Regions from separate parts of the Homo sapiens genome. Here region 2 is linked to region 1. The links are contacts of gene promoters, found by promoter capture Hi-C in blood cells and fetal thymus (Javierre and others, 2016). All regions are on one chromosome and are shown on one strand. Each heading gives the region's core, a stretch centred on a gene start or on the middle of the fragment in contact. The rest is flanking DNA. Distances are from core to core; before and after follow the strand shown. Region 1 holds the start of ZNF805 (zinc finger protein 805). Region 2 overlaps ZNF790 (zinc finger protein 790).

Region 1 (4,929 bases), core at 1,560-4,059:
TCACCAACGGAGACTACAAAGGTTTTGTATAATATGATTTTTTTTTTTTGAGACGGAATCTTGCTCTCTGGCCCGATCTCGGCCCACTGCCGTCTCCGCCTCCCAGATTCAAGCGAGTCTCCTGCCTCAGCCTCCCAAGTAGCTGGGATTACAGGAACCCGCCACCATGCCCAGCTAATTTTTGTATTTTTAGTAGAGACGGGGTTTCACCATGTTGGCCAGGCTGGTCTCAAACACCTGGCCTCAGCTGATCCACCCGCCTTTACCTCCCAAAGTGTTGGGATTACAGCCGTGAGCCACTGCACTCGGCCTGTATAATTCTTAAAAGATTGTTATGACCCTAACATGACTTTGTTGCTTTCTTGTTTGCAACCAGTTAGTTCAGGGTTGTCAAAAGGCCAAAATTACAACAAATTTAGTTTTAGATCTAATTGACTTTTGTTTGTGATTCATGAATTGAGGCAATCTCTGTTCTACACAATAGAAATTAGAGTTCCCACTGGGCAATGGCAGAACAGTGGGTTTTGTAAGGTGGGAACAATAAAATAGAACAATAGAAAAAAAAGCTGATTGGTTAACAGATTACTTTTTCTAAGGGTTAAAGCAGAGGGGACTTCCTAATTTCACTAATTCAGGTAGACTGAAATCTGCTTTTAGGAAAAACTGGGATCTGTCTGCTTCCTTAAAACTTCAGTTTGATTAGATGACATTTAGTATGAGAGACGCCATTTTGATTTGGTCAGTGAGGCCTGCTGTAGGAGCTCCAAAACAATGGCCTCCTGTAATTTTTGTTTAACAATGTTCACCTCTTTCCATTCCTTTCTCCATCTATGCTCATTTTTTTTCATGGTCTTGTCCAGTATCATAACTTGAAATAACAGTGTTTGCCAAAAACTTCCAGATTTTTATGTCCAGGCACAACTTCTCTCCCAATATTCAGTCAGAGATTGAACTGCTGTGACACAGACACTCTGTGGTCATACAGACATTTCAAACTGATCATGCTTAAAGTTGGAGTCATGAGCTCACCCAGTCCAAGACTCCCCACGTTAAGGAATGTCAAATCTACTCTACCAGGGCTCTCAGCCAATACCTAAAGCAAAAGTTGCTGGACCATGTGAAGACCAAGCTTGGCCAAAGAAGGCCCAAGAGAGACAATGCATTTGCAACATGTCCCAGCTGGACAGGGTCTTGCTCTATTGCCCAGACTGGAGTGCAGTGGTGCAATTACAGGTCATTGCAGCCTCGACCTCCTGGGCTCAAGAGATCCTCCCATCTCAGCCTCCTGAGTAACTGGAATTACAGGGGTGTGCCACAATGCTCAGCTAATTAAAAATTTTTTTTGAGTAGGCTGGATGCTGTGGCTCATGCCTGTAATCCCAGCACTTTGGGAGGCCAAGGTGAGTGGATCACTTGAGCACAGGAGTTCAAGACCAGCCTGGGCAGCATGGTGAAACTGACTACAAAAACTACAAAACAAAACAAAAAAACCCTCAATTTGCTGGGCGTGGTGGTGCGTGCCTGCAGTCCCAGCTACTTGGGTGGCTGAGGTGGGAGGATCACTTGAACCCTGGAGTTTGAGGCTGCAGTGAGCTGTGATCGCGCCACTGCACTATGGCCTGAGCAACAGAGCGAGACCCTGTCTCAAAAAATATATATATAAATATATATATAAATATATATGTGCATATATATACGTATATATACATATGTATATATACGTATATATGTATATATGTATATATAAATATATGTATATATAAGTAGAGAGAGAGAGAGAGAGAGAGACGGAGTCTCACTCTGTCGCCCAGGCTGGAGTGCAGTGGCGCGATCTCGGCTCACTGCAAGTTCCGCCTCCCGGGTTCACATCATTCTCCTGCCTCAGCCTCCCGAGTAGCTGGGACTACAGGCGCCAGCCACCACGCCCGGCTAATTTTTTGCATTTTTAGTAAAGACGGGGTTTCATCGTGTTAGCCAGGATGGTCTCGATCTCCTGATCTCGTGATCTACCCGCCTCGGCCTCCCAAAGTGCTGGGATTACAGGCGTGAGCCACCGCGCTCTATTTTTTTTCTTTTCTTTTTCTTTTTTTTTTTTTTTTGGTACCAATGAGGTCTCGCTCTGTCGCCCAGACTGTTCTCAAACTCCTGTCCTCAAGCGATCCTCCTGCCACAGACTTCTGGGACCACAGGTGTGCGCCAGCACACTCAGCTTATTTTAAAAAAATTTTTTTTTTTTTTGGTAGTCTCCCTATGTTGCTCAAGCTGGTCTTGAGCTCCTGGGCTCAAGCGATCCGCCCCCCTTGGCCTCCCAATGCGCTGGGATCCCAGGCCTGAGGCATCGCGCCGCCCGACGTCCCCCTTTGGTTACTCTGACTGCCCGCTGATCTGTATAAGAGGATCCGGAGGGGAAATAATGCAAGGTGGAAGTCAGAGTCCGGAGCCTGGTCCAGGGTCTCTGCACTGGCCCTGACCCTGGCAAATGTCCCTGACTCCTGGGGCTCGATTTCCTCCGGCCAAGAATGGACGGTCTCGCGCTTGGTCCCTGGCCTCCGAGTTGTGCCCCCAGGACAGAGGCAGGTCTGAGCCGGGCTGTAGGCCCGCTGCGACTTTTACACCGAGGCCTGCCGGCTCAGGATCTGTCCCCTTTGCAGGTGGTTTGTAGAGAAAAACTACATTAACTACAAGGCATTGCCAGGTGCGACGGCGGGCCCTGGGGCCAATGATGGTCCAGGACAGGGGCGTTTCCTGTGGGTTGCGAAGCTTGGGGCGGGACTTCCGGCATTTGGATGGGACGTAATTTGGGAGCGACGGTTCCGTCCACGCCGGCTCTAGGGAGGGGGCGGTGTTCCGTGGCCGCCTCCCTGGCGGCGCTGGGGAAATGAGCAGGTAGGAGGCCGACAGCGACCTCCGCGTCTCGGAGCGAACCGTGAGCCTCCCCGTAACGAGAGAGTTTGACTGTCAGCCAAGGTCACCGGGCCCGGCGCAGGGAAGGGGTGGGGCTCGGCTGAGCCCGCGAGACCCGCCCTGCTCGCCGCAGCCCCCGCCCCGCTAGGGCCACAGGGTCCCGGTATGGCGATGGCTTTGACGGACCCGGCGCAGGTGAGTGGACAAGGTTTCGGCCTTGCTGCTTTTCTGCTAGTTCGGGGAAGCCTCCTGGGCAGGCCGGAAGCCAAGACAGCCACAGGATTCCTCTTTGTAGTTTTGTTTGTTTACGAAACGTGGAGCAGGCTCGTCACTTAGTTTATCTCCTGTCGTGGTAGTACCTGAGAGACTGAATATTGAAGCGGACAGTAGGCAGACTATACATCGATTATAGGGCTGTGACGTACAATTTTTTTGTAGCAACCTGCCCAGGAAACCAGCCTCCTGTTCTGCAATAAACTACTCTGGAAGCCAGTCTGCCTTAAGTTAGTCTTGCAAGGAGCTAGATTACTCTCTGGTGACATTTCAGGAGGCTAAACGGTAACTCCTGGAACAGTAGGCCCCAAATAGGACTTGATTTGTAACTGACTGTTCTAATTTTTGCCTCCGCCTCCAAAAGAGGACCAAGCAGAGAAAGCCATACGTGCTCAGCCTAACCAATCACATACGATGCCCCACTTCTAGTTAGCCCTTCTGCAGCTTTCCACTGCTAAAGTGTCAGGCCTCTGAAAGCTGCTTAATAATTGCTTGAAGGATGGATGAAGTTCCACTCCAGGGACTCCCGTCACACACATCATCCGAACTCAGCCTTGGCCTGCAAGTCCCTACCCGGTCCACTATGGCTGACCACCTCTGTCCTTGTTTCCTTCCTTTCCTCCCTGGCTCAGCGCTTCAGACACAGGTCCACTATGGCTGACCACCTCTGTCCTTGTTTCCTTCCTTTCCTCCCTGGCTCAGCCCTTCAGACATATCAATCTGATCACGCAGAGTTCTTTCCTACCCCTCAGCCTTCACCTTTACAGTTCATTCAGCCTCAGACACTATCCTCAGATCTCTGCAAGACCCTTTCACATCTTGTTGGCTCTGCTCAAATGTCACTTCTTTAAAGCGGCCTTTCATGGCAGTTCAGACTAAAGTAGTCCCCTTCTCACCTGCCCTTGGTCTAGCGTTTTTGTATAGAGAATCTGGCAAAGTTTTAGACACCTACTGAGTTGAGGTCTTAAAGGATTTTGTGGGGACAAAGAGCATAAATAATAACACAAGAACTGTAACGGTTGGCCTTCATTGAGTCCTTGATGTGAACTGAGAAATGGGCATTATTTATCATCTCATTTAATCCTGATCTCCTTAAAGTGACATTCTATTATAAACACTGCTGTACACAAGAGGAGGTCAAGACTCCGACCTGTTTAGTTACCTGCTGAAAGTCACATAGCACTTAAGTAACAAACTCATATTTAGCGTGTGGACCACCAGAGCCTTTGTTTTTACAGACAGTTGGCTGAGAAGCCCTGAGGTGAACTTTGCAGTCTTTCCAGCAAGTCACAGTGGCCATTGGAAGCGAAAGGCAGACATTCCACTAGAGAGGACTGTGTAGACAAAGGCAAAGTGTGTTGGTTGTTTAAGGAGGTCCAAGAGGACTTATGAGGTTACCATGGTTCCCCCCATCCCCACCTGCTGAGACATGGCCTGGAAGGGCAAAATCCTGTGGTCTTTTGTTGGATGTTCGTCCTGCCTTCAGCCTATAGGGCATTTTGGCCAGTCATAAGCCTGGGTTCTCATGACCACAGCCTGCATTATCTTCAGCCACTTGAGTTTTCTGGTCCTGAAGCACACTGGCCTTAGGGATACCTGCTGGCAGGACTCAGGGAAGGAAAAGGCTAATGGTTCATTATGCAATCTCCCTGGGGTCCAGGGGAGAGGATGAGCTGGTCCAGGCACTGCCCCTCGTCAGGCATTTGGTACTTGTGAATTTGGTGATGAGGGTTTTGCCCACATCTTGGGGAT
Region 2 (4,929 bases), core at 906-3,405, about 20 Mb before region 1:
TAAGCCACTCCTGAACTCCTGGTCCACAGAAAATGGTGTTAAGATAATAAATATTTATTTCTGTTTTAGGGTAATATGTTTTACAGCAATAGATAACTAATATAGAAATGAAGGTTAGAGAATAGAAAATAGACTAGCTCATTGATTGCCTCATTTGTGATAACTGAGAGATAAAGGGTGTCATTTCAAGCTGAAAATCAAGGGGAAGAAATTTAGAAATGTTTAGGACTACAGCCAAGGCAGGAGGACTGCCTTGAGGCCAGGAGTTTGAGGCCAGATTAAGCAAAAGAATGAGACCTTCTCTAAAAAAAAAAAAAAAATGAATACAAATGTAAGTCAAACAGGGCAAAATGTCAATTAAATTTCAACATACAAGCAAAAAGTAGGAAATTTAAAATGACAGCACTTAGCAGGAAAAATTCAAATTCCTATAAATAAATCTAACAATATATGTAACATACAATATCTTTTGTTTGTTGGTTTGTTTTTGAGACAGAGTCTCGCTCTGTCACCCAGGCTGGAGTGCAGTGGCACAATCTCGGCTCACTGCAACTTCCGCCTCCCGGGTTCAAGTAATTCTCCTGTCTCAGACTCCCGAGTAGCTGGGACTACAGGCACCAGCCATCATGCCCAGCTAATTTTTGTATTTTTAGTAGAGACAGAGTTTCACCATATTGGTCAGGCTGGTCTCGAACTCCTGACCTCAGGTGATCCACCTGCCTCAGCCTCCCAAAGTGCTGGGAATACAGGCATGAGCCACCGCACCTGGCCTGTACAATGTCTTTATATTAATTACTACAAATAGTTAAAGAAGACCTAAACAAATGAAATAATTTATCACATTCATGGGATGAAAGGCTGATAATTTTCAAGGTGTCAGTTTCCCCAATATAGTGGTATAGGAAGCTTAAAAGTAAAAGGATAGCAAAAGATATACCATGCAAATCATAATCAAAATAATGCTTAGGTGGCTATAATATCAAGACACCATAGATTTCAGAGCAAATAAATAACATGGAAGAAAGGATGGTCTTGAATACATGGTGCCAGGTCAACTGAATTTATATGAGGAAAACAAATCATGATTTCCCCTCACGACACAAAAATCAATTCCAGGTTTATATACCTACATGTGACAGATAAATATAGATGAAAATACAGAATATCTTCATACCTTGGGGATAAGCAAAGATTTGAATAAGATACAGAGTACAAACCATAAAAGAAAAATGATAATGATCAGACTACATTTTAAAAAGCAATTTTTGTTCATCAGAAAAGAGTGAATGGGCTGGTCATGGTGGCTTATGCCTGTAATTCCAGCACTTTGGAAGGCTGAGGCGGGTGGATCATCTGAGGTCAGGAGTTCGAGACCAGCCTGACCAACATGGAGAAACCTTGTCTCTTACTAAAAATACAAAATTAGCCAGACATGGTGGCGCATGCCTGTAATCCCAGCTACTCAGGAGGCTGAGGCATGATAATCACTTGAACCGGGGAGGCAGAGCTTGCGGTGAGCCGAGATCGCACCATTGCATTCCAGCCTGGGCAACAAGAGCGAAACTCCATCTCAAAAAAAAAAAAAAAAAAAAAAAAGACAGTGAGTAAAAATGCAAACCTTACGCTAGGAGACGATATATACAATACACAAAGCTGACAAGGGACTCATTCAGATTATACAAAGAACTCTTAAGGATTAACAATGAAAGACAAGTTTCCCAACAGCTAGGCTAAGAACTTGAACTGGCACTTCCCAAAGGAAGATATCCAAATGGACAATGCACATTAAAACAAAGGTATTCAAGTTCCTTAGTCATCAGTTAGGAAAACCACAATGCAATACCACTACATATCCACCATATTGGCAAACATTTTACAGTCTGACAATGCCATGTGTTAACAAGAAGATGGATCAATTGGAACTTGCATAAACTGTTGATGGGAACTTTTAACTGGTTCAGCCATTTTGGAAAACTGACAGTATCTGCTTGAGGAGATTCACATACTCTTACTCACCAATTCCTCTCCTTGGAATAACCCAATAGAAATGCATACATGTAAACACAAAATGACAAGTGCAAGAATGCTCTCTTCCTGATTATTCATGAGAATAACGTATTGTCTGTATATATGATAAACTTCAATAAAAAGACTAGGAAGAAATACAGCATATTACAAGGCAAATACAAACAAAAAAATAAGCAGAGGCCATGATCTTGAGCATGCTAAAGCCTGCAATTCATAATAAACATATAACAATCATTAATATCTGTATATCAAAGCAACAACAACTTTCATAAAGCAAAAGTTACAGGTTATATAAAATAAAATTTTGGCTGTGCACGGTGGCTCACACCTGTAATCCCAGCACTTTGGGAGGCCAAGGTGGGCAGATCACAAGGTCAGGAGTTCAAGACCAGCCTGGCCAATGTGGTGAAACCACGTGTCTACTAAAAATACAAAAAAAATTAGCCGGGCATGTTGGCGCATGCCTGTAGTCCCAGCTACTCAGGAGCCTGAGGCAGGAGAATTGCTTGAACCAGAAGTTGCGGTAAGCCGAGATCCCACCACTGCACTCCAGCCTGGGCGACAGAGGGAGACCCCGTCTCAAAAAAAATAAAATAAAATAAAATAAAATTTCATTAATACACCTCTCTCAATCCAAGACAAATCAAGTGTAAGGCAAAAAGTAAGTATAGACTGACCAGATGTTAGATCACAAATAAAAGTTCACTAAGTTCCAAAGTTTAAAAATAACACAATATAGCAAAACTGTAAATTATATTATTGGTGAAGTGGGGACCTATGTACTTTACTGGAAGTCTTCAACATAATCAACAGAGGTTGAGGTCCCCTTATGTCACAGGGATCAAGACTCCTCCACAACACTGAGGCCAAGACACTACACCACTGTATTAGTTTTCTACTGCCATGAGGTAGTGGCTTAAAATAATACAAATCTATTATCATATAGTTCAGTAGAAGTCTGAGTTGGGTCTTACTAGGCTAAAATCAAGGTGTTGGTAGGGCTGTGTTCCTTTCTGGAAGCTCCAGGGGAGAATTCGTTTTCTTATGTTTTCCAGCTTCTAGAGGCCACCAACATTCCTTGGCTTAAGGCCCACTTCCTCTATCTAGTAAGCAATGTGGCATCTCTCTGACCATTCTTCTGCGGTCACATCTCCCTCTGACTTTAAACTCAGCCAGGAAAGGTTCACTGACTTTAAGGACCCATGTCATTATATTAGTCCAACAAGATAATCGCCCCCATTTCAAGGTTCTTAACTTTATCCCCTTTGCAAAGTCCTTTTTGCCATATAAAGTAGCATCGTCCTAGTTTCCAGGGATTAGGAAGTAAACATTGGTTGCAGGGCCATCATTCTGCCTACCTTGACCCCCCTTCTATCTTAAGCTTCCTTCTTTCTGAGAGATACTCAGTGAAGGAAATAATGTATACAGTGGTCCATTTCCAAGACAAAATGCCTTGAATTGGCTTAGGTAAGCAAACTACAGAAGAAACAGGATATACTAGGCCCCTGCTTGGATAGATGATGCCTGCTTGTCAGCCTCCCGCTTTCTCCCTTTCCCCCACTTAGTTGCCTTCACCCAAACCAAAGAAGTTTAGTCTAAGATGAAAGTTTGCTAGCCTGCAAAATAGCTCATTTTGTCTGCTTTTATCAGCCTGCCCAGCTGCTTAGGTCATAAGTCAACTATTGAAGAGACCTTGAGCTAACTAGGATTGCAGTGCATTGTGGGCCGCAACCAAATGCAGCAAGACAAGCCTAAAAAAAAAACACACACACACACCGGCTGGGCGCGGTGGCTCACGCCTGTAATCCCAGCAGTTTGGAAGGCCGAGGCGGGCGGATCACAAAGTCAAGAGATCGAGACCATCCTGGCCGACACGGTGAAACCCCATCTCTACTAAAAATAGAAAAGTTAGCTGGGCGTGGTGGCACGCACCTGTAGTCCCAGCTACTCGGGAGGCTGAGGCAGGAGAATCCACTTGAACCTGGGAGGCGGAGGTTGCAGTGAGCCGTGATTGCACCACTGCACTCCAGCCTGGTGACAGAACAAGACTCTGTCTCACAAAAATCAAAAAACAAAACACCTGAAGCCCCTACCCAACAATCAATAGGCAACATCCGGGAAGATTGTGACCCCATAGTTATCAGCCTATGAGGAACCAGGGGAGGAACCTGTGCACTAGGGGATAAATTGCTTGTTGAAACTGTTGGGTGTGCCTATCAGACACTGATCTTGCAAGACCATCATTAAAAGTCTCACTTTTGCTGTTCTCCGGGTCTCTGAGTCCATTCTTTGGGACGGGTAAGTTTGTTTCTCACACTCAAGAAATCATCTTTCACTATCCCACGCTATCTCTCCAAAACTGACTTGAATCCAACCAGAATAAATGTCAATCCAACCTTGTATTTATATTTATCTACTATAAGAAGTCCCAGAATTTCTAGTCAACTGTCTTTTCGGACATTGTATACCATCAAGTCTCATTTGTCCCCTTTTCTCATTCTTCCCAACTTTCAACACTTTTCCTGTATGCCTTCATAATGGAATTCATAATTCATTAACAACCAACTCCTCTTTTATCTTCAACCACTTCCTTGAACACGCCCTAACATTCTGAGTCTAACAGAAACTAGGCTGTATCTGGAGGACTCTGCAGCCCTCTCAACATTTCCCCAGCTACAGCCTCTTACCAGTGGGTCTGAAAATGGAACAGATGGCCGGCCTCCTTGTTGTTCACTACCTTCAGACCTTTCTTCCTCCCTCCACAAACTCTAGTTTTGAATTTCCTGCCATGAGATTGTATATAACTCACCACATCTCACTTTTGTTGACCTCTACCAAACACAGGGTATTTTCCCCCTATATCTGAAATCTTCAGCTCATGGTTTACTCTCTGCAGCGCGA

What was found. The method cuts DNA at HindIII sites, captures the fragments that hold promoters and counts their contacts. A CHiCAGO score of 5 or more calls a contact.
Region 2: a fragment that was not itself captured here is called in contact with the fragment with the promoter of ZNF805 in region 1 in 1 of 17 cell types (non-activated CD4 T cells); the score reaches 8.2 in non-activated CD4 T cells.

The regions. Positions count from the first base shown.
Region 1 is chr19:57,237,823-57,242,751 of GRCh38, forward strand. ZNF805 (zinc finger protein 805) reads left to right here and starts at 2,810. Exons shown (of 4, transcript NM_001023563.4): 1 at 2,810-3,099. The coding sequence starts at 3,070. RefSeq lists enhancers at 2,408-2,627, 2,648-2,917 and a silencer at 3,038-3,107. The HindIII fragment of the contact is 2,977 bases long and covers 2,759-4,929 here.
Region 2 is chr19:36,832,672-36,837,600 of GRCh38, forward strand. The region is part of intron 1 of ZNF790 (zinc finger protein 790); the gene reads right to left. Among named protein-coding and RNA genes, the nearest start is that of ZNF790, 3.3 kb to the right of the region's middle. The HindIII fragment of the contact is 2,503 bases long and covers 905-3,407 here.